2 separate regions of the Homo sapiens genome follow, and region 1 is linked to region 2. Evidence: promoter capture Hi-C in human tissues and cell types (Jung and others, 2019). All regions are on one chromosome and are shown on one strand. The core of a region is centred on a gene start or on the middle of the fragment in contact, and the rest is flanking DNA. Distances in the headings are between cores, read along the strand shown. Region 1 has its middle 17 kb from the start of CHST3. Region 2 holds the start of PPP3CB (protein phosphatase 3 catalytic subunit beta).

Region 1 (3,017 bases), core at 193-2,692, 1.5 Mb before region 2:
GCTAGCAGCTGAAAGAGGAGTTTGTGGGAAATTTAACCTAACCAATTGCTGCCTGCACATAAAGGGCAAGTAGTTAAAAATATAGTTAAAGATATAACAAAGCTGGCACTTGTGCCCGTGCAAGTGTGGCATGGGTTTGATCCTGGGACCATGTTTAGAAAATGGTTTCCAGTGCTAAGAGGATTTAAAACTCTTATAATAGAAATTATAATAGGAACCTGCCTGTTGCTTCCCTGTGTGCTGCCCTTGCTCCTTCAAGTAATAAAAAGTTTTGTTACAACTTAGTCCATCAAAATACTTCAGCACAAGTGTACTACATGAATTGCTATTGATCTGTCTTACAAGAAAACCTAGATAGTGAAGATGAAGATGAGAACTCCCACTAATAAGTGAGGTTCTCAAAGGGGGGACTAAGGGAGGAGACCACGTCTCATATTGTCTTCTGCCTAATTTCTGCCTCAAAGGAAAGAGAAAGTAGGAGTTAAAGAAAAGGCAGAAGTGAAATTCAATAGTCAGACAGCCCATCACCACACCCCAGGCCTAGTAGTTAAAGATTGACCCCTGACCTAATCGCTTATGTTACCTATAGATTCCAGACATTGCATGAGGGAGCATTGTGTAACTCCCTGTTCGGTTCAGTTCTGTTCTGATCACCGGTGCATGCAGCCCCAGTCACGTAGCCCCCGCTTGCACAATGTATCATGACCCTTTCACTTGGACACCTTAGTTAGTTGTAAGCTCTTAAAAGGGACAGGAATCTTGACTTCGGGGAGCTCAGATCTTGAGACACGAGTCTACCAATGCTCCCAGCTGATTAAAGCCTATTCCTTCCTAAAACTGGTGTCCGAGAGGTCTTGTCTAAGACCGGTCCTGCTACAAAATCTTTAATGAACAAAACTTCTGTTTATAAAACCACAGTACAGCTATCACTCAGGAAAGTTAACATTGAGACAATATTATCTATTTTGTCCCTATTCATATTTTACCAATTATCTAAATAGTGTCTTTCACAGTAATCCTTTTTTTCAGTTTCAGGATCTAGTTCAGGATGCATTTAGTTGTTGTATTAGTTAAATTTAGCTGCACAACAAACTTGGTAGCTCAAAACAATATTTGTCATCTCCGTTTCCATGGGTCAGGAATCTAGACATGGCTTAGCTGGGCTCTTGAGCTCAGGGTCTCTCACAAGACTGCAACCAAGGTGTCGGCCACAGTCATCTCAGAATTCAAGTGCAATACGATCTGCTTCCAAGCTCATTCAGTGATTGTTGGCAGGATTCAGGTCACTGCAGACTGTTGGATTTAGGGCTTCAGTTCCTGGCTGGCTGTTGGCTAGGAATTCCTCAGTTCCTTGAAACATGGGCCTCTCCAGAGGGCAGCTCACAATTTGGCAGCTTGCTTCACCAGAACAAGCAAGCTGAGAAGAGCCAGAAAGAGAATTCTAGCAAGATGGAAGTCTCAGTCCTTTGTAACCTAATCTCAGAAGTGATATCTCATCACTGACATCTGCCTATCACATGTTTATGTCTCTAGTCTCTTCTGATCTGGAACAGTTTCTTAGCCTTTTTATTGTCTTTCATGTCCTTGGCATTTTAAATATTGCAGGCTAGTTGTTTTGTAAACATCCTTTGTTTTGTAAACAGTTTGAGTCTGTTTGATGTTTCCTCATAATTCCATTCAAGCAATGCATTTTTTTCAGGAATACCTCACATTCAATGTTGTATTCTTAGTGCATCGCATCAGGAGGTTTGTCCCCTTATTAGTGATAGTAACTTGGATTGCTTGTTTAAAATAGTGCTCAAGCTCTTTCTTTTTATTTTTTTTTTTTTTTGAGACAGGGTCTCACTCTGTCACCCAGGTTGGAGTGCAATGGTGTGATCTTGGCTCACTTCAACCTAGGACTCCTGAGCTCAAGTGGTCCTCCACCTCAGCCTCCCGAGTAGCCGGGACCACAGGCATGCACCACCACACCTGGCTATTTTGTAAATTTTTTTGTAGAGATGGGGTCTTGAGATGTTGTCCAGGTCCCAAACTCCTGTGCTCAAGAGATTCTCCTGCCTCAGCCTCCCAAAGTGCTCAGATTACAGGTATGAGCCATCATCCCCAGGGGCCACTCAAGCTCCCATATTCTTAACCACTATGCAATTCTGCCTCTGGCCAGGAAAGTTCTTTCCATTTTTCAAACAGGGTAGAAAATGAGACTAATTCTCTTGGTTGAGAAACTGTGGGAAGAAATTGAGCCTGGAAACTATTTTAGGACAAAAATTCCCTATGTCCTGGATCAGACCCTCTAGCTCTCATTTGCACTCAAGATACCATCACTGGAGGCCCAAGCATTAGCTGTCATGCCAGTCCACAGCTTGGAGAACGAATGTCCTTTCACACCTGTTTTTTCTTTTTGTTACTGGTTCCTTCATCTGGAAAGCCCTTGGAGGGGCCAGTGGTGCAATGGATAACACATCTGACTACAGATCAGAAGATTCTAGAAAAGCCCTTGTCCCACCTCTACCTGTTCTCTGCCTCTAGAACTCCTGTTCATCTCTCAAGCCCAGGCCAGGGTTCAGCTCCAGAAATAAGGCTGCAGCATTGTACAATTCCAGGGGTGCCTGGCACCCCCTGGAGTTGTGCTAGCCTGTGGTTCTGCTCTGGAAACCCCTCCCCAGCCTCACCTCATGTGCACATTTTCTCATTAGTATTTGTTAAGACGTATGTGTGTCTTCTCTAGACAGAGTAGGACTAAGGCTTGTTTCCCCTGTGGACCCGGCATCCAGTATGTGCTCAACAAGGGGTGGGTTAACACGGGAATTTTTCATCCCACCACCACTCTGCCCCAAAACAGCAGCACAGTCCTTTTCTCCTTAATTTGATGGTGACACAGTTCTGGCATTTGACCTTTGTATCCCTGAGGTGCATCACAAAGTTCCCGCAATAAAATACAACACTCCAAATGTCCCAGTGGAAAGCCCCCTTATAAGGCCAGCAGGTGCAGTTAGAATGTGGCTTCTTGACAAACTTGT
Region 2 (3,328 bases), core at 687-3,186:
GAGGTAGCCAATGTCCCGTTCCCACCCCCACAAAACTCCAGGATTTCTTGATAGAATGAATGTCTGCATTACTATTTTTTTTTTAAGATTTCTCTGTATTAAGGATTCCATAAACTCGTTATTCAGCTCATTCCAATGCCTGGCCCAACTGGATATACTACTAACTTAAGCCTAGGTGCAAATCAGTGTTTTGTTTTTGTTTTTGTTTTTGTTTTTGGAGACAGGGTCTGGCTCTGTCGTCCAGGTTGGAGCACACTGGCGCAAATCTCGGCTCACTGCAACTTCTGCCTCTCGGGCTCCAGTGATTCTCGTGCCTCAGCCTCCCGATCCGCTGGGACTACAGGGGCGCGCCACCATGCCCGGCTAATTTTTATTTTTTGTATTTTTGGTAGAGAAAAGGTTTCGCCATGTTGCCCAGGCTGGTCTCCAACTCCTGAGTTCAAGCGATCCGCCTGCCTCAGCATCCGAAAGTGCTGGGATTACAGATGTGAGCCACCACGCCAGGCCAAATTAGTATTATTCTTTTAAGAACCGAAGAAGGCTCAGGTTGAAAATTTTTAATTAAAAAAAAAAAAGAAAAAAGGTTTCCTTGTTTTTAAATATTTTAATGGAAACATATGAGTCAGATTTCAAAAAGTAGGCTAACGGTGTTTAAATACTGTGCCAGTGTATTTGAGAAGCTGAATGAAAACAAAAGTACCTATATTTTAAAAATAAATACAATACAAATAAGGAAAAGTTCATTCTACGATTTCAATTTATCAATCAAGCTACATGGTAAAGAGAATCATTTCAATTGTTTTTCACCTCCACAGCAGTGTTTGAGGTTGGTAGGCTCTCCCAGGAAGCTTGGAATCTTAAGCAACTCTCAATTAGCCCTCAATTTCTCTATTTTAAATTAATCTGCTGACCTGTTGTGGGTAAACATCCATAAATTCTGCCCTGGCTGAGAAACATTTAACTTTTTCGTCTAGGATGAATGTGTGGGTGTGTGTTTGTAAGGGAGGGGTAACTCCTTTTGACCAAAGTGTTGATGGTTTTCTAAGTAAATACTTGCTATCCACAAGAATTTTTTTTTTCGTTTATGCTGCTTTTTCTCCCTTTCTGCACTATAAAGGCTGGCCTTCCAATTCCTGCCCCGACCCTTCACCGTGATCCAATCCCACAAGGTTCCCCTAATTTCTGCTCCGGGTGGCACCTGACGGCCAAAAGTGAACCCCTGCGGTTGTCGCCAGCTAGACGCGGATAGGGCGGACGACTGTCACCGGGGAGCAGGCGTGGGCCAAAGCCGAGGTGATTTCTGACTGCTCACTGGCGGGCCTCGCGTGGCTGAAGGTCTCCGAGCCCCTCGGTTCGCCCCGGCAAGCCAGAAGTGCAGCTGTCGCGGGGCAGGAAGCTAATCGCGGCCCCTGCGCCGCTTTGACAGGCCGAGTGAAGAGAAAACGGGCTCACTGCAGCTAACAGCCTCACCCCTTGGGCTAGGAAGCCACGGAAGCAAAACCTCCGCCCCGGCCTGAAAGCAACCGGGAGACCGCGGAACCACTGCCACCGACTCAGCCCTGCCCAGCAGGGGCCCGCCCAGGGGCCACTCCCCAAGGGAGGCAGCCAGTCACTCGCCCGCCCTTCCGGGCCCACTCCCGAGGGGACGGTCTCCCGCCCGCCCTCACACACAGCTAGCTCTTCAGGCCAGGCCCCCAGGGTTTCGTCCACCTCTCACCTTTGACGACGCGGTCAGCCCCGGGAGGGGGCGGCGGGGGCGGGGGTGGGGGCGGTGCAGCCCGGGCCGGCTCCGGGGCGGCCATGCTGGGCCCGGGGCTCGGCTAGGCTCTGGGCCGGGCGGGGTTGGGGGCGGGGGCGGCGGCTACCAGAGCCAAGCGGCGGCGCCGCCGGGGAACATGGCGGACCCTCTTTCCCTACAGAGGGGCTAAGACCGGCATGCACTGCGCGTGCGGGGGTGGGGGCGGGGTAGGCTCTAGGGACTTGGGCAAAATTACTGAAGCTAGGAGAGAAACAGGACGAGGCCAAGGGATCAGGTTAAAATTCTTTGCATGCAGAATGAAGAATGAGGAGGTGCTGCGATCGAACGACTGCGAGGAAACACACCCGCTCTCATGGCATTCCCAGTAAACTGAGAAGACGTGATTAAACCTCAGGATCTCCTACTAATAGAGAAATGTATAACGATTTAGCTACCAGATCTGAATACTGAAGGGTTGGTAGGGGACCAGAGAATAGAGGAAGCATTGTAGGTTCTAGAGTGGAGAAGGGACCATCCAAAATGGAGTTTGAAAGAGAATTCTGGCCTTTGTGTTTAGAGTCTGGAATTGTCAAGAGTCTGAAAGCACAGAATAAGACTGCAGCTAGAGCAATTTAGGCGCCATAGTTTGTCAAAACAGGTAAGGGGAATAAAGGGGATGACACCAAGAGATGTGCAAAGAATCTGAAGAATTCACCTGAAAAGGATACAACCTCCTCCTGGAAGGCAGAGGAGTAAATAGGGAATTGGAAATTAATTCCTTATTTCTGCACATGCACAGAATCTGGGCCCAGGTGACTTATGGAACCTTTATAGAGACCACGGTGACTGACACTCATGGGAAAGGGGGTAGAGGGGCAAGAACTGACTGTTCATCAAAAATTATTAGATGAGTGTGTCCACGACACCAGGAGATATGTTGAATCATGGACAGGGACCAGCATATCCACTAAGCTCTATATATCTTGATGGTGCAGGATCCAAGTGGGATGGAACAACCAATTCCTGCCCATCCTCCTGCTCAATAATACATGTGCTCAGAATCTGTTCATAATGCATGGTGGTAAGTAAGTAGTAGTCCGAAGGTCCAAGGAGTACCTTTCTACCTCTTCTTTGTGTCAATTTCTATCCTGAGACCCCAGGAAAAGAGGAAGGGAAAGACCCAACAATGGATTTTTTCCAAAAAGGGAACCCACAAGCTATTTTTTAGAGGGAAGAGTCTCGGGAGTGAGGCACAGGTGAAAATGGATCTTTCTGGCATGGAAGGGCCATAACACCACAGGGGAAGGGAAAGGGAGAGGCCCCCACGGAAGGAGAGGAAGGAAGGGACAGGAGGCACGTCACAAACTTATAAGATAGAGGGAAGGCACCTGGAGTACATTGATCAGGAGTGAGTCTGTAAGAAGAGCTTGAATCCCCAGAAAATCTTCCTAAGGAGGGGAGGAAGGAAGTGTATAATGTACTGAGTACTGAATGCTCTGTCAGGAAAGGGATGGGAAACATCCTAGCAGCAATACTAGAAAGGAAAGGCACCCTATTTTAGGACCCATTGATTCCCACCTTGATTGTATA

What was found. The method cuts DNA at HindIII sites, captures the fragments that hold promoters and counts their contacts. A contact is called where the count stands out against the background at its distance.
Region 1: a contact is called between a fragment that was not itself captured here and the fragment with the promoter of PPP3CB in region 2, in 1 of the 25 tissues and cell types used here (dorsolateral prefrontal cortex).

The regions. Positions count from the first base shown.
Region 1 is chr10:71,945,631-71,948,647 of GRCh38, forward strand. No RefSeq gene overlaps it. Among named protein-coding and RNA genes, the nearest start is that of CHST3, 17 kb to the right of the region's middle. The HindIII fragment of the contact is 4,623 bases long and covers 1-3,017 here.
Region 2 is chr10:73,494,088-73,497,415 of GRCh38, forward strand. PPP3CB (protein phosphatase 3 catalytic subunit beta) reads right to left here and starts at 1,937. Exons shown (of 14, transcript NM_021132.4): 1 at 1,718-1,937. The coding sequence starts at 1,802. It overlaps PPP3CB-AS1 (PPP3CB antisense RNA 1), which reads left to right and starts at 1,665. Exons shown (of 5, transcript NR_132104.1): 1 at 1,665-1,730; 2 at 2,055-2,396. RefSeq lists enhancers at 1,004-1,463, 1,954-2,143 and a silencer at 1,524-1,873. The HindIII fragment of the contact is 7,291 bases long and covers 256-3,328 here.